Regions from separate parts of the Homo sapiens genome. Here regions 1, 2, 3, 4 and 5 are each linked to region 6. The links are contacts of gene promoters, found by promoter capture Hi-C in blood cells and fetal thymus (Javierre and others, 2016). All regions are on one chromosome and are shown on one strand. Each heading gives the region's core, a stretch centred on a gene start or on the middle of the fragment in contact. The rest is flanking DNA. Distances are from core to core; before and after follow the strand shown.

The links. The method cuts DNA at HindIII sites, captures the fragments that hold promoters and counts their contacts. A CHiCAGO score of 5 or more calls a contact.
Region 1: a fragment that was not itself captured here is called in contact with the fragment with the promoter of ZMPSTE24 in region 6 in 17 of 17 cell types (naive B cells, total B cells, total CD8 T cells and 14 more); the score reaches 14.0 in naive B cells.
Region 2: a fragment that was not itself captured here is called in contact with the fragment with the promoter of ZMPSTE24 in region 6 in 5 of 17 cell types (naive CD4 T cells, naive B cells, total B cells and 2 more); the score reaches 7.4 in naive CD4 T cells.
Region 3: a fragment that was not itself captured here is called in contact with the fragment with the promoter of ZMPSTE24 in region 6 in 1 of 17 cell types (naive B cells); the score reaches 5.2 in naive B cells.
Region 4: a contact is called between a fragment that was not itself captured here and the fragment with the promoter of ZMPSTE24 in region 6, in 5 of 17 cell types (erythroblasts, naive B cells, naive CD4 T cells and 2 more). The highest score is 7.4, in erythroblasts.
Region 5: a fragment that was not itself captured here is called in contact with the fragment with the promoter of ZMPSTE24 in region 6 in 8 of 17 cell types (erythroblasts, naive B cells, megakaryocytes and 5 more); the score reaches 7.9 in erythroblasts.

What each region holds. Positions count from the first base shown.
Region 1 is chr1:40,417,631-40,420,563 of GRCh38, reverse strand. The region is part of intron 9 of SMAP2 (small ArfGAP2); the gene reads right to left. Among named protein-coding and RNA genes, the nearest start is that of ZFP69B-DT, 31 kb to the left of the region's middle. The HindIII fragment of the contact is 254 bases long and covers 1,399-1,652 here.
Region 2 is chr1:40,450,403-40,453,134 of GRCh38, reverse strand. ZFP69B (ZFP69 zinc finger protein B) reads right to left here and starts at 2,659. Exons shown (of 5, transcript NM_023070.3): 1 at 2,047-2,659. The coding sequence starts at 2,173. RefSeq lists an enhancer at 1,366-2,565. The HindIII fragment of the contact is 217 bases long and covers 1,350-1,566 here.
Region 3 is chr1:40,049,589-40,052,419 of GRCh38, reverse strand. All of the region lies in intron 1 of CAP1 (cyclase associated actin cytoskeleton regulatory protein 1), which reads right to left. Among named protein-coding and RNA genes, the nearest start is that of CAP1, 10 kb to the right of the region's middle. The HindIII fragment of the contact is 2,679 bases long and covers 26-2,704 here.
Region 4 is chr1:40,074,201-40,076,700 of GRCh38, reverse strand. All of the region lies in intron 8 of PPT1 (palmitoyl-protein thioesterase 1), which reads left to right. Among named protein-coding and RNA genes, the nearest start is that of PPT1, 22 kb to the left of the region's middle. The HindIII fragment of the contact is 2,472 bases long and covers 15-2,486 here.
Region 5 is chr1:40,091,494-40,094,193 of GRCh38, reverse strand. It overlaps PPT1 (palmitoyl-protein thioesterase 1), which reads left to right. Exons shown (of 9, transcript NM_000310.4): 2 at 1,687-1,796; 3 at 2,022-2,149. Among named protein-coding and RNA genes, the nearest start is that of PPT1, 4.4 kb to the left of the region's middle. The HindIII fragment of the contact is 1,680 bases long and covers 611-2,290 here.
Region 6 is chr1:40,256,807-40,259,704 of GRCh38, reverse strand. It overlaps ZMPSTE24 (zinc metallopeptidase STE24), which reads right to left and starts at 1,469. Exons shown (of 10, transcript NM_005857.5): 1 at 1,311-1,469. The coding sequence starts at 1,433. RefSeq lists enhancers at 1,059-1,158, 1,249-1,528, 1,609-1,878, 2,109-2,238. The HindIII fragment of the contact is 15,848 bases long and covers 1-2,898 here.

The DNA of each region.
Region 1 (2,933 bases), core at 276-2,775, 160 kb before region 6:
GCAAATGTGTCAATCCTTTGCTCTTTTTACAACTACTGTCATTCTTCTGTAAAGAAGGCTTTTCCTCCCTCCATTCCACACCTGGTTTTTAAAAAATATCACCGTGGACTCATGGTTTTGTTTTGTTTTTTCCATTCAGTGTGTCATAATCCATTACTGTTGTTACTCTTTTTGATGTTCAAATTGTCTCACATTTGGCCAGTCAGAGCCACTGGAAGTTGGCTCATGCGTCCCTCTGACATATTCCCATCAGACTTATAGCATTCCATTACTTATATAAATAAAAACGAAACAATGAAAATAAGTGAATTAAAATCTCCACTATGAAAGCTAGAAAATAACAAAGTAAACCCATAGAAAGCCTACGGAAATTGAGGTAGAAAACGGAAAAATGTAGCACCAATAAATCGAAATCCTGGTTCTTTGAAAAAAATTAATGAGACTGCTAGGCATAACTTTTGATAAATTTGAAAACCTTGGCGAAATGGAAAATCTAGGTAAATACAGTTTTCCAAAATTGACTTCCATAGAAGAAACAGAGAAAAGTATCAAAGATTTGCTACAAAAAAAGCAATAGTGCCCACAAACTTCACATGGGAATTCCACAAAACCTTCAAAGACCAGAGCTACATAAATTATTCTGGACCACAGAGAAACAAAAACATAAAAGTACTTCTTATAAATAAGTATAACCCTGATAAAGATAGCTATACATGCACATGTGCAGTACACATGCACCATACCACCTCTCTGGGGTTCCTTTGCCTGTCTCTTGGTTTTCACATTAAATCACTTTGTATTTCTTTGTACCTAGTGCAAAACTAGTGTTGCTTTGTTAGCCAATTTGAACATCATTTTCTTTTGATAGAAGAGTTGCCTACTGGTATGACTGGTATGTTTGGTCTCAACTCCATCATATTAGATTTTTACTGTGTTTATTGTATTTGCTGCACTTTGTAGTCTGTTTTTAAAAATTCTCAGCTGGGCGCAGTGGCTCATGCCTGTAATCCCAGCACTTTGGGAGGCCAAGGTGGGTGGATCACCTGAGGTCAGGAGTTTGAGACTAGCCTGGCCAACATGGTGAAACCCCGTCTCTACTAAAAAATACAAAAAAAATTAACCGGGTGTGGTGGCGGGTGCCTGTAATCCCAGCTACTCGGGAGGCTGACGCAGAAGAATCACTTGAACCCAGGAGGCGGAGGTTGCAGTGAGCCGAGATTGTGCCACTGCATTCCAGCCTGGGTGACAGAGTGAGACTTTGTCTCAAAAAAAAAAAAAAAAAAGAAAGGAAGAAAATTATCTTGGTATTCAGAACATTTCACGTGTTTGTTCTAGTGATTACCTTCATAGTAATACTTTTTAGCAATGTCCTTGGTCTCCTTTTTCCTTATTCAAGCTTCCGTGATTTGGTTTGTCAGCTTATTGCATCCTTCGATTTCTACTTCTTTCCCATACAATATTTATTATTCAACTTTTCTCCCTCCTCCTTCATTTTCAGTTGTATTTGTTTGTCAGAATATAATGTATATTCTGCAACGCTTGTCACCACCTTTGTTTTAGTCTTAGATTCTCAATTAAACATTCAATTCTCACCATCAGTTCTTTTGCCAAAAATGAAAATGACCCCAGTCATCTCTTAGGTGGATGAAGCTTATCTTCTGTTAGATTCCCCAGGAAAGTCTTGTAAGTGTGATATTCTCTGAGTTCTTGCATATTTATTTTTTACAGCCTTGATACCTGAAGGATAGCTTGGCTGGCTTGGTTGTAAAATACTTGTTGTGTCTTGCATACACTTGAGTGTCTTTAAAATACTACTCTCCTTGTTATTCTTTTTGTATTTTGCTGCTAGGAAGTCTGATGTCAACCTGGGTATTTTTTGTTTGTTCTAAGTAACAGATTTTTGTGGGTAGGAGGTATGGAAAAGGTTGGACCCCTAAACATTTTGAATGTTCTTTAAAGTCTGTAGATTTGCTGGGATATGTTTTAAAGTTGACTGTTCTGGGTCAATTTTCCCAGACACACAGTGGGCTCTTTCCATATTATATCCAAGTCTTTTATTTCTAGAATGTTTTCTGGTGTTAAACACATTAATACTGTCCCATATTTTATTTATTTTGTCTTTATTTCTTTGGGCATCTCCAAATATATGTAAGTTTTCTTTGCCTAACTTCCATATTAATTTCCATCTAATTCTTTTTACTACTTTCTATATTTAGTTTTCATTCTCTTAGCTGTTTCATGCCTTTCCTCAATGCCGAATATATTTTCAGCTCAATCTATTGTTCTTTAGCTAACTTGTAATTGAGTCTTTATACGAAAATTTTGGCTTTTTCTTCAATTTCTTTTCTGAGTTTAGTAAACTTTCATTTCACAGCATGCAGTTTTTTATCCATTTTGGCTTTAAGTTTTTGAATTTCTGATTTAAGGTGTTTTGTCTTATCTGCAAATGTTTAAGGACATTTAATTCAGATTGGTAGATTGTGTAACAATTTTCTTCTGCTTCATGACTGTTTTTTGAGGGAGAATATTCATTACGTGAAATGTTTTGATTTTCATTTTCTATTTTCTTCCTGTAGTAGTTGTGTACAAATGTCAGCTTCCATGTTTGGTTCATTTTTGTAAGGTCTTATTTTTTCTCAATCAGCAATAATAGGTGTGAAGGTTTGGGGAGGCTTACTAAATTTCTTAGATTAAGAGCACCATCTTTTATTAGTGAAGTGGTTATTTTGGAAGAGGGAAGAAGGTGTATATTTGATTTTGTGATTCTCATTCCCATTTCTCGTGTCTTTCTTTCCTTCACCACCAGTCCTCTAAAGGGTACCTCCTCCTTTTAGGCCATGCCCATCTCCCCGAGAAGCAATGCTTTCCCAAGGTTACTACCTATACTCCTATATATCTGAAGTCTCTTATTTTTGATCCTCCAAGTAAACAGA
Region 2 (2,732 bases), core at 209-2,708, 190 kb before region 6:
ACAAAAATTAGCTGGGCGTGGTGGCAGGCGCCTGTAATCCCAGCTACTTGGGAGGCTGAGGCAGGAGAATCACTTGAACCCGGGAGGCAGAGGTTGCAATAAGCCAAGATCGAGCCATTGAACTCCGGCTTGGGTGACAGGAAAAAAAAAAAAAAAAAACCACTAGGAATTAAGGCACATGAATAACTGTCTTTGTATTTTATTCCAACTTTTTATCATGAATATTGAACATCTATACATCCACATCTAGATTCAACAATTGTTAATATTTACCATATTTGCTTTACCTATCTACATTTTTTCTGAAGCACTTCAAAGTCGTCTGCATCATAATACTTTATCCCTAAATATTTCAAATAAGGATCTTCTCTTGTACAACCACAGTACTATTTATTAAATCTATGAAAATTAACAATAATTCCATAGTATCATCTAAATATTCAGTCCATATTCAGATTTCCTCAACTGTTTCCTCAACTTTTATTCTGGATTTTTTCCAAACCAGGAGTTAATCAAGGCTCACACATTCAAAGTGGTTGTTACCTCTAGTCTCTTTTACTCTAGAATAAGTACTTCCCCTTTCTTCATGATGTTGTCTTTTTAAGATACAAGAACAGTCTGACTGTATCCTCAATGTGAGGTTTATCTCATTTCTCCATCCCCTGTATTTTCTGTAAACCAGCAGTTCAGTCTTTAAACTTAATTTAGGATCATGTTCAACATTTTTGGTAGGAATACCTTGTAGGTGGTACCAGGTGCTTTATATTACAGTATCTGCAAAGTATAAAATGCCCGGCTATCCCATTACTGAGACATTTGATTAAAACTGTGACCACCACACCTCACTATTGGAAAATTATGTTCATTCCTTGCCATTTAGTAAGTAATTTGAGGGGATAATACTTTGATATCATGTGAGTATCTGTTCCCCATTAACCTTTCAATTATTTTATTTACGGTAAAAGATTCTATCATTCTTTCTACATTTATTTATTTATTTATTTATTTTTGAGACAAGGTCTTGCTCTGTCACCCAGCCTGGAGTGCAGTGGCGCCATCTCAGCTCACTGAAACCTCCCCTTTCCTAGTTCAAGCGATTCTCGTGCCTCAACCTCCCGAGTAGCTGGGATTACAGGCATGTGCCACCACGCCCAGCTAATTTTTGTATTTTTAGCAGAGATGGGGTTTCATCATGTTGGCCAGGCTGGTCTCAAACTGCTGACCTCAAACTCCTGGTCTCAAGCAATCCGCCCACCTTGGCTTCCCAAATTGCTGGGATTACAGGCATGAGCCACCACACCTGGCCTCTTTCTACCTTCATTATTGGCACGCATTTTCTGTAAAAAGCTTTCCCTCACCAACTGAAGAGGATCTAAAAGGCAAGGTAAATGCACATTCATTCCCATAATAACCTATTTTTCAAAGTAAGGAATCAGTGTATTAATTACCTCCAATGTTTGCAAATGAATTCCCCCCCCCCCACGTCTTTCTCTATTTTAAGTGTCAAGGTGATCATGTGGAATTTTACTTATTCAAGGTGTTACCATCAGTTTGGATACTTAAGCTTTCCCAAATCTGTCGAGTGAGAGACCCTTAAACCTGGCCTCTTTTGACACATATCCATAGTCTTTAAGCTCTTCCTTGCTTTCTAGCACAAGTTACTCCAGGCTCACCTGGTACTTCCCCTGCTGCTTCTCTTTCTGACCTAGCCACCAAGTTCCTGTGTGACCCTGGGCAGGCCTCCCATTTGATTTACATTTCCCCACTGTTAGAATAAGAAAAATCAGGTTAAGTCCATCCTGCCCCACATGGCCATGGGAAAGATGAAAATAAATAATATACATAACCATGACACTGAAATACTGGTCCTAGGCTGAAAAGACCACCACTACTTAGGAAAACCCCAGACTAGGAGCCACAATCAACAACTCCGGAAACCCTCCACCCACTCGTCTCCCTAAGAGATGCTTCCACTCAAGTGACTCATTCCTTCTCACACTAGAGGGGACTGCTTTTCCTCCCTCCCACCCATCAGTTTATTCTTACCTTCTGCTTTAAACATCTTAGTCACATCCTCCCACAGGGCCACCCGCTCCGTGGCCGCCTTTGGATGACGCAACTTCACCCAGGTGCTGGCCTCGGTGGGCAGGGTGATCAGGAGCTGCTGCAGCATGACGGCGTCCGCACTCCTTTCTGAGGACCCTCTGTCTTAGCCCATAGGGCTTGTCCACCTCTGATGAGGAAATTGCTGGAAGCTCTGACAGGAGGCTTCCCAATTGTACCGATCTCCTTAATCGCCGACTCCTACTCCTCAATGTCCTCTCTCAGGAACCCAGGGAACATACAGTATCAAAATCCGAGATCTGGACTTGTGTCTATCATCGGCTCTCAGGGCGTATCTCCCAACTTGAGCTCCATCTGTCTCCTTGGCCAGCAGCTGGAGGCGCCAAGTATTTACTCTCAGCAGCCCCTGCAGATGCTGAGCAGAAGACATTAGAATCAGCAAAGGACTAAGGAGGCTCAGTCATAGGGCAGAACGCTAGAACATATATGGATCACTGTAAAATGTTTCCAAAAGATACACGGAGACGGTGGGCAGACACAGCCCACAAAATTCAAAGCACCGCGCACATGTCAGGAAGCACAAAGAGACGAATACAACCCAATTCTTTGTTTGGGGCAGTAATTATGTGTAAAGTAGCCGGGGATTTGGAATCCCAGCTCTTTCACTA
Region 3 (2,831 bases), core at 116-2,615, 210 kb after region 6:
TACTTAAGCATTCATCATAAAAGCTTCAGAAACACAGGTGGTCAAAATTACACAAGTCCAAATAAAATTAGAAGACTGAGGCCTGAGTCCCAAGCTGTACATACTAACTGTGCAACTTTACACAGTCACATAATGGATTATAATCCTCATCTAGCATACACAGATATAAGGATCAAAGGAGGTGATTTCATAGATACGAGTAATCACTTCAGAAGCCTTAAAATGCAATTCAAATGTAAAATGTTAGCACTACATATTACGTACTAGAATATAGGCTCAAGAAGGATGGGAATTTATCCATTCTACCTCCTGCACTGACTCTATCTCCCAGCACCTAGAAAAACTAGGCACACAGAAGATGCTAATAAAATCAAAGTGCTTAGCATTGTGGGCCTACTGAAGAAATAGAAGACACATGGTCCCTCCCCTCCAGAAGCACTCATATTGGTTAAGACAACAAAATAAAATGTGAATGGAATAAATACTGTAGATTATATTTGTTAAAGTTTTTCTGCTTTTATTTAAAAAACAAAACAAAACAAAAAAAAACAGGCTGGGCGCGGTGGCTCACGCCTGTAATCCCAGCACTTTGGGAGGCCGAGGCAGGCGGATCACAAGGTCAGGAGATCGAGACCATCCTAGCTAACACTGTGAAACCCCGTCTCTAATAAAAAAAATTAGCCAGGCACGGTGGCAGGGGCCTATAGTCCCAGCTACTCAGGAGGCTGAGGCAGGAGAATGGCATGAACCCGGGAGGCGGAGCTTGCGGTGAGCCAAGATCGCGCCACTGCACTCCAGCCTGGGCGACAGAGTGAGACTCCATCTCAAAAAACAAAAAAACAAAACAAAAAAACCCCAAACAAACAAAAAACAGGGTCTGGCTCTATTGACCAGGCTGGAGGGCAATGGTGTGTTCACAGCTCACTGCAGCCTTGACCTCCTGGCTTCAGCCTCCTGAGTAGCTGGGACTACTGGGACTATAACTACATGCCACCATGCCTGGCTTTTGTGTGTGTGTGTGTGTATGTGTGTGATAGAGACAGAGTCTCACTATGTTGCTCAGGCTAGTCTCAAACTCCTGGGCTCAAACAGTCCTCTTGCCTCAGCCTCCCAAAATGCTGGGATTACAGATGTGAACCATGACAGCCAGCCTATATTTTTAAAAGTTTTATTATGGGAATATCCAGTTGGATTAGGGAAAGTTAAATTATCAGCCTATTCTTGCAGATTTTTCTTCACAGAATGTTGTTGCTACGGTTCTGAATTACATAAATTACTACATGCTCTGAGAGTTCAGAGGAAATCAATGAGGACTGGCGGTAGCTTGGTTTCAGGAGGGAAGTGAGGCATCTTGAAGAGGCAAGAGAAAAAAGGGAAGCCATTCCAGAGCAAGTCAAAAGCAAAAAAGGAGACCAAGCAGGCTATGTACAGAAAATGTGAGTGGGTTAGCCTGCATGGAACATGGAGTATTATAGGGAACAAGGATGCATGAGCAAGCTGGGCCAGATGATGGAGGGCACTGAAAGCCAGGGAAAATTTAAATTTGACGTTGTGATCAATGTGAAGCCATTCAAGGGTTTTGAGTGAAAGAATAATATGATGAAAGCAAAGAGCTTACAAGTACTGTCTGATAAACAGAATGGGATGTGGAGACAAGTGATGATATTAGGGTCTAGAAAGTTAGGTTAAAAGCTGTTATTCATCTAAAATAATGCTACTACAAAAGATATTTGTATTTATTTATTATTACTGTAATTTTTTGAGATGGAGTCTCACTCTGTTGCCCAGGCTGGAGTGTGATGGCATGATCTCAGCTCACTGCAACCTCCACCTTCCAGGTTCAAGCGATTCTCCTGCCTCAGCCTCCCGAGTAGCTGGAACTACAGGCATGCACCACCACGCCCGGCGAATTTTTGTATTTTTAGTAGAGACAAGGTTTCGCCATGTTGGCCTGGCTGGTCTCGAACTCCTGATCTCAGGTGATCCACCTGCCTTGGTCTCCCCAAGATATTTCAAAGGAAAAAAATCCACAATATTTGGTGTTTAACCAAATATTGGAACAAAATGAAAAGAATCAATTAACCTGTAAATAATCATCTTTAGGCAATTAAGAGACCAGCACCTGAATTAAGTGCTGTACAGAATATAAAAGAAAGGTAAAATAGTCTCCCTGTCCTAAGGGAGTCTAGCAGGAGAGACAAAGCTACCTTCTATCGACTCACTGGCTCTCAGGATTAGAGGGATTCTAGAAATCATCTTGTAAAAACACCATCTTATGCCAGAACAGTCCTTTCAATTAGCAATTAGTCAGGCAGCCTCTGCTCAAACACCTTCAGTGATGGAGAACCCGAGACTTCTGGAGGCAGTCCATTCCATTCAGACAGCTCAAAGTATTAAAAAGTTCTTCCTTATATGGAGGCAAATCTGCCTCCCTGCAACTTCCACCCACGAATCTTGGTTCTGCCCTAGGAGGTCATATGAAACAAGTGTGCATTAAACTGAGAACAAGTACTAACTGTATGGTACTGACTGTGAGCACAGCAGCATTCAGAGAAGGGAGGCAAAGATGACTCCTGATTTGCAAATATGGGGGCCTTAAGAGAATAATGACATTATAGGCAGAAATGGGTTGTGGCATGTTCTAGTTAGGGCAACAAGATGAGGTCAGTTTTGGATATGCTGAGTTTGAAAAGAAGACAAAGCTTCTAAGTGGAAATGACTAGTGAGTATTTAGAAATAAAGCCTAGGAAAGAATCAAGACTGGAGATAATGTTTGCAAATCATTGGCAAAGAACTGTCATGAAGTCATGAGAACAGACAAGCTTTTGGAG
Region 4 (2,500 bases), core at 1-2,500, 180 kb after region 6:
ATATGGGTGAAGCTTGTTAGGCTCTTGATTATGTGCTCTAGCTTATTAGGCACTGGGTTACAAAAATCCACTACATCCTGAAACCTTATGGTTTCCAAACAACAAGAGAAACCTCATGTCTGATTCCCTTCTTTTGATAAAAAGGTTTTAAAACTAGCTGCCTTGGCTGAGGTACAGTCTGCTACAAATCCAGGAAGCCTCCATGCATGATGAGGGGCATTCCTTTTTTTTTCTTTGAGACGGGGTCTCGCTCTGTCACCCAGGCTGGAGTGCAGTGGAGCAATCTTGGCTCACTGCAACCCCTGCCTCCCAGATTCAAGCAATTCTCCTGCCTCAGCCCCCTTAGTAGCTGGGATTACAGGTGTGTGCCATCACACCTGGCTAATTTTTGTATTTTTAGGAGAGATGGAGTTTCACCATGTTGGCCAGGCTGGTCTTGAACTCCTGACCTCAGGTGATCCACCCACCTCAGCCTCCCAAAGTGCTGGGATTACAGGCGTGAGCCAGTGCGCCTGGCCAAGGGACATTACTTTTAAACATTAATAGATGTGAAATCCTGTTTCTAAATTACGCACTGACAAGGGAGGCTCCTGCAGGAGGTTGAGTGGGACTAGAGTTTTGAATTTTGTTTAGCAGTAGGTCCTGTATCTTAAGCAGAAGTTGCAGTAATTTGCCACCTCCAGTTCTGGGGCCTTCTACACTTTAAGGATTTTTTTTTTTTTTTTTTTTTTTTTTTTTTTTTGAGACAGTCTTGCTTTGTCACCCAGGCTGGAGTGCAATGGTGTGATCTCAGCTCACTGCAGCCTCCACCTCCTGGGTTCAAGCGATTATCCTGCCTCAGCCTCACTAGTAGCTGGGATTACAGGCACACGCCACCATGCCTAATACTTTGTTTTGTTAGTAGAGACGGGGTTTCACCATGTTGGCCAGGCTGGTCTTCAACTCCTGACCTCAGGTGATCCACCTGCCTCAGCCTTCAAGAGTGCTGGGATTACAGGTGTGAGCCACCACGCCCAGCCCTAAGGATTTTATATTGGAGACAGACTCTCCAAAATGCTAAGTACTACATCTGAACCAATCACCGTCTACTAGAATTCCTCCATGTTATTTCAGAGGTCATTTGTCTCCTCTTGGCTTGGCTTTTCTTTTGCACTGGGTGCCTCAACTTGGGTGGTGAGGTAAAAAGGGAAGCTAGAATCTGATTTGAGAAAAAAAAAAAAAAAGGCTTGAGAAATTACAGCTAAGAACTTCCTTACTGTGAAAACTCAAAATGATGTTGGCCACGGCAGAAGCACCATTCTGGCACTGTCGTAACTGCTTATCTTCCCAACCAGAGGTTGTTCTCCAGCATCTAGGCTATGGGTAATGACATTTTCAACTCCAGAATATGAAAGTGTCCAGGGTTTGTTACCTAACGGTTGGATATGGTTTTTCTGTTTTGTTCTTTTGAGACAGTTTTGCTCATTGCCCAGGCTGGAGTGCAATGGCATGATCTCAGCTCACTGCAACCTCCGCCTCCCGGGTTCAAGCGAATTCTCCTGTCTCAGCCTCCCAAGTAGCTAGGATTACAGGTGCCCGCCACCATGCCCAGCTAATTTTTGTATTTTTAGTAGAGACAAAGTGTCATCATATTGGTCAGGCTGGTCTTGAACTCCTGACCACAGGTGATCCGCCTGCCTTGGCCATCCAAAGTGCTGGGATTATAGGCGTGAGCCACCGCGCCTGTCCTGGGTTGGATGTTTTTTAAGTTACCTAGCTAATGTTCTGTCTTTGGCTCAGTCCCACTTACCTATGGCATTCTGAGGCAGTGTCGTCTATGGCTTGCCCACCTATAGGTAGTCCTCTGACTCTGAGCTTTTCAAAAATCAGAATCTAGAACACTGTATAGAGCAATCTCAATTGCATATCTATTTTTAATACTTAGAAAAAACTGGCCGGGTGTGGTGGCTCACGCCTGTAATCCCAGCACTTTGGGAGGCCGAGGCACGTGGATCACCTGAGGTCAGGAGATCAAGACCATCCTAGCTAACACAGTGAAACCCCATCTCTACTAAAAATACAAGAAATTACCCAGGCATGGTGGCATGCGCCTGTAATTCCAGCTACTCATGAGGCAGAGGCAGGAGAATCGCTTGAGCCAGAGAAGTGGAGGTTGCAGTGAGCCGAGATCGCACCACTGCACTCCAGCCTAAGCAACCGAGCAAGACTCCGTCTTGAAAGAAAGAAAGAGAAAGAGAGACAGAGAGAGAGAGAGGAAGAAGAAGAAGAAGCGGGGGGGACAGGAGGAGGGGGAGGAGAGAAGAAAGAAAAGAAAGGAAGAAAGAGAAAGAAAGAAAAAGAAAAAAGAGAAAGAAAAAGAAGTAGGAGATATTCTTTTTGGCATTTTTGAAAATACACCTCAATTTTAATACTCAGGACAAACTGCATTTTGAAAATATATCTCAAGTTAACGTACTTACCATTTTACTCCAAAACTTCATTAAGCTTTTTAATTAATTAT
Region 5 (2,700 bases), core at 201-2,700, 170 kb after region 6:
CTAGATGCTTAATTTGCCTCACCCTAGTCCTGGCCCTGAAGAGAAAACTTTGCATCTGTTCACCCCAAATATCCCCTGTGATAGGGGAAGGGAATGTGTACCTCTGCTTATTTTTCATTTGTAAATTTGGTGTCTTAATTATCCTATATGGGCTTTTTGGTTTTTTTGAGACAGGGTCTCGTTATGTTGCCCAAACTGGTCTCGAACTCTTGGCCTCAAGCAATCCTCCTGCCTCGTCTTACCAAAGCGCTGGGATGATAGGTATGAGCCCATGCTTGGCCTATATGGATTTTTTTTTTTTTTTTTTTTTGAGATGGAGCCTTGTTCTGTTGCCCAGGCTGGAGTGCAGTGGCATGATCTTGGCTCACTGAAACCTCCACCTTTCAGTTTCAAGCGATTCTCCTGCCTCAGCCCCCCAAGTAGCGGGACTACAGACATGTGCCACCACACCCGGCTAATTTTTGTATATTTAGTAGAGATGGGGTTTCACCATGTTGCCCAGGCTGGTCTCGAGCTCCTGACCTTGTGATCCACCCACCTCGGCCTCCCAAACTGCTGGGATTACAGACGTGAGCCATGACACCCAGCTCCTGTATGGACTTTTGAAGCTTGTTATTACTTGATAAACAGGAGCTAAGCAAAAAATGTTCTTTCTTCTGTTTTTTAAAATTGAGGTAAAAATTCATGTAAAGTTAACCATTTAAAATGGTACGATTCAGTGGCATTTAGTGTATTTGCAATGTTGTGCAACTAACACTTCTTTTTCAACACCCCAGAAAAACACACATAGCCATTAAGCAATCACTCCCTATTGCCCCCTCCTACTACTTCTTGATAATCTCCAGCTTAGTTTTCTGTATCTCAGTGGATTTGCCTGTTCTTTATTTATCCTATGAAAGGAATCATGCATTATGTGGCTTTTTGAGTCTGGCTTCTTTCACTTAGTATAATGTTTCTGAGGTTCATTCAAGTTGTAACATGTGTCAGCACTTTGTTCCTTTTTTATAACTCAGTAATATTCCATTGTGTGAATATACCACATTTTATTCATTCATTCATTGATGGACTGCTGGATTGTTTCTCCCTTTTGACTATTACAAACACTGCTGCTGTTAACATCTATATGCAAGTTTCTGCATGGACGTGTGTTTTTATTTCTTTGGGGTGTATAACTAGGAGTTGAATTGCTGAGTCATTTAGTAATCGTATGTTTAACTTTTTGAGAAACCACCAAACTGTTTTTCACAGTGGCTGCTTATTACATTCCCACCAGCAATGTCCAAGGGGTCCCATTTTTCTACATCGTTGACAATACTTGTTATTTTCTATTAAAAAATTATTATTAAAGACATCCTAGTCTGTGTGAAATGGTATCTCATCGTGGTTTTGGTTTGCATTTCACATGCCAGTGGTTAGCCATTTGTATATCTTCTTTGGAAAAATATCTGTTTAATTTCTTTTCCCATTTTTAAATTAGGTTATCTTTTTGTTGAGTTGTAAGTGAGTTATAGATTCCTTGTATATTCTGGATATTAAGCCCTTATCAGATAACTGTTTTGCAAATATTTTCTTCCATTCTATACATTGTTTTCACATCCTTGATAATGCTGTTTGAGGCCTCAGAGTTTTTAAACAATAAACAATATTTGGACTCATGAGTTTCCATCATTGTGTTTTGTTGGCTAGGAGACAGCTGTTGCAATCCCTTAAGCATGGGTGCTATTAAAAAAATGGTGGAGAAGAAAATACCTGGAATTTACGTCTTATCTTTAGAGATTGGGAAGACCCTGATGGAGGTAAGGCGCTTCACAGCTGTTCCTTTGAAGGGTTGCTGACTGATTTCATAGCATATACTGTTAAAATGCTTTGCCTTGTGTTTTCAGCAGCAGATCATACAGTGATACTTTCACCCTTGAGTGGCTCATGTGAGGATACCAACCTAAATGAGTTTACCTCTTAGAGAAGATGTCAGTGGTTGTTTTCAGTCCCATCCTCTCACTTCTCTCTGGCTTCTTTTTTAGGACGTGGAGAACAGCTTCTTCTTGAATGTCAATTCCCAAGTAACAACAGTGTGTCAGGCACTTGCTAAGGATCCTAAATTGCAGCAAGGCTACAATGCTATGGGATTCTCCCAGGGAGGCCAATTTCTGTACGTTCCTTTTTGTTATATTGTACCACTTATATGGAATTGATTTTTGTTTCTTTTATTCAGATAAATCCACTCCTCCAATTCAAGATTGTCACCTATCTTGGAAGGGAAATTTCCTAAAATGTTCCTGTGTAAGAAGCTTTATGGAACTTAATTTCTTTTCTTTTTTTTTTTTTTTTGAGACAGAATTTCTCTCTTGTTGCCCAGGCTGGAGTGCAGTGGCGCGATCTCAGCTCACTGCAACCTCCACGTCCCAGGTTCAAGTGATTCTCCTGCCTCAGCCTCCCGAGTAGCTGGGACTATAGGTGCTCACCACCACACCTAGCTAATTTTTTGTATTTTTAGTAGAGATGGGGTTTTACCATGTTGTCTAGGCTGGTCTCGAACTCCTGACCTCAGGTAGTCCACCCACCTCAGCCTCCCAAAGTGCTGAGATTACAGGTGTGAGCCACCATGCCTGGCTGGAGCTTAATTTATTTTCTATGAAAGTTGAAAGAAATATTTGCATTTGCCCATATCAGGAAAATCCTGAAACTCTGCGGGTTTGGGGA
Region 6 (2,898 bases), core at 220-2,719:
TGAGCCCACGAGTTCGAGGCTGCCTTGAGCTATGATGATGCTACTGTGCTCCAGTCTGGGTGGCAGAGTGAGCCCCTGTCTCTAAATACAATAAATATTCTATCCTGGCCAAGATGGTGAAACCCCGTCTCTACTAAAAATACTAAAATTAGCTGGGCGTGGTGGCACGTGCCTGTAATCCTAGCTACTCGGGATGCTGAGGCAGGAGAATCATTTGAACATCCCTCCCTCTGCGCGCTGCTGGCAGTGTCACAGACACACTCTTCCCCTTGCAGACTCTCCCTCGTCCCTCCTAGTTTCTTGCAGTGAGCCGAGATAACGCCACTGTACTCCAGCCTGGTGACAGAGCTAGACTCTAAAATTAAATAAATAAATAAAGATTAAAAATAAATAAATAAAAGTTCAGATCTCTAAACCATGGTTATCTCAGGTAAATTGTTAACTTTCACTTTTTATTTTACCATTTTAATATTTAAACTAAAATAATGTTGATTTTATGAAAAACGAGAAATATATTTCATTTAATTTCATTTATTTATTTATTTTGAGATTGAGTTTCACTCTTGTCGCCCAGGCTGGAGTGCAGTGGCACAATCTCAGCTCACTGCAACCTCCGCCTACTGGGTTCAAATGATTCTCCTGCCTCAGCCTCCCAAGTAGCTGGGACTACAGGTGCGCGCCACCACACCCGGCTAATTTTTCTATTTTTAGTAGAGACGGGTTTTCGCCACGTTGGTCAGGCTGGTCTCGAACTCCTGACCCCAGGTGATCCGCCCGCCTCGGCCTCCCAAAGTGCTGGGATTACAGGCATGAGACACCACGCCGGGCCCGATAAGTTTTTTGTTTGTTTGTTTGTTTTTTCAAGCAGAAACAATATATGCACTTTAAGGAGAAACAAGAGTGCAAGTTCTTGGAAGGACTGCAAAATCCTATGGTTAGGCATGATTACATAAATGTCATGAGGAAGTTGGGTGTCTAAATCCTTTTAAAGGCTTATTCCAAAGATAAAGGAGGCCAAGTCTGGGCCCAAGGATCCCAAGGAAGCTGCAGGGAGGGCACAAGAGCCCAAGCCTTCCTCCAGGCCCTAAAGGGATTGGGTCCCATGATAACGTTACAGAAAACTTCCTTGACGCACCAAGACCCTCCTCAAAGCCACAGTCCGCCATCGGGCCAAGTTACGAGACTCAGCAGGGACCACAAAGACGAGACTGGCGCGGGGACCGAAGCAATCAAGAGTCTCAGGGTCGAAGCCAAGGCTACTCCAGGGCTGGCCGGGTATGGGGGTCAGGTTGGACCCTGTCTAGGCTCACCTGCCGCTGTGCTAGGAAGGTCTCCCAAAGATACACTGTCCAGGAAAAGAGCAGCACGGCCCCGAAGATACGCTTCTCGGCCGGCATCTCCCACAAAGCGTCCAGCGATGCCCACATCCCCATGGCCACCCGGTTCCGCCGGCTCCTTCAGCGTGCACCGGTGCCACACCGACACTCGTCCCTTCAGAGCGTCCCCGCGGTGTCACAGCAATATCCGTTCTTTCCGAGGGCCCCTACGCCGATACCCGCCCCCATCCCTCCCTCTGCGCGCTGCTGGCAGTGTCACAGACACACTCTTCCCCTTGCAGACTCTCCCTAGTCCCTCCTAGTTTCTACAGGAAAAGCCCCAGCCCCACCTTCCTCACTTCCGGCCCAAAGAGGGCGGGGACCCAAACGCCGAGTTCCGGGCCCGGCTGAGCTGTGTTGCATCAACATTCTTCCCCCACGTCTTGACGCTGGGTTCCGGCCTAGGGTTCTGGCTTTCCTCCTGGGCTAGTGAACGCGGCGAAGTCCTCCTCTTTCTAATCTCCAGAGCCGCAGTTCCATCCTCTGGGTCAGCGGCTTACCCTGACTGGGCTGCGGTATCTGCCTTCCTTCCCCCAACAAGGCGACAGGTAGTCGGGGCTGGGGCCGGAACTGACTGAGTGGGCCGCAACTGACTGAGTGGGCCGCGGCTCCCGCCTGAGGAGGCTAGGAAGGACTGAACAGCAGCCGACTTCCCAGGCTCTAAAAATCGTGCCTCTGAGTTAGAGCTACCTCAAAAGCAAGACCAAGCATGAGAAATGGAGTCTTTTGGCCAGTATTGGGGTGTTCGGAATTCAAGCGTATGAGAGAGTGGACGGTAGCGTTGAGAATTTTCATTTGAAGATCTCGTCTTAACCACCCCAAGTGTAGTCAGAGGCGGCGTTTTCCCTGCGAGAGTGCCCTGGAACAAAGCAAGGATAGCGTGGGTTAGACATACCTGAAATGAAAGCGTCTTACTTTATCTAGGTACATATTTGCGTCAGTAAGGCGCAACGCCATTTCTCTCTTGGAATTCAGAAGTGAAATATGGTGACTGGGACGCCTGTACATTGCTTTGACTTAAAAATTGAAGTCCATTATTCTGACCGAAAGTTAATCTGATGATTAATTGGTTAAACATACTATCGTTGCTAATTAGCATAATTATTATTTACAATAAAGTGAGCTAAATAGCTACAACTAAAATATATTTAAATTACTGTGATATTGTGATGCTAAAGATGTGTTGAAATTAATATCTTGAATTTCTCAACCCTGCCTAAATGCCTCTGAGAGTAATTAGTATAATTAAAAGTCACTAGAGAAAGTGAATGACTCTAATAACAGGATAACAAATTCTTTTCAAGTCAGATGGTTTCCAGTTCTTTGCTTTCAACAAAATTAATGGTGGCCCATGAATTGTCAGCTGATGAAGGAACACTATTTGGTTTTTGGCATGCAACTCGGAAAGAAACCAAACGATTGATTGACATGCTTACAACAAAACTACTAGCATTCTCACCTATTTATGTAAAACCATTTCTCAGCACTTGTATCTGTGAAAACAACAGAATTGAAAATGAAC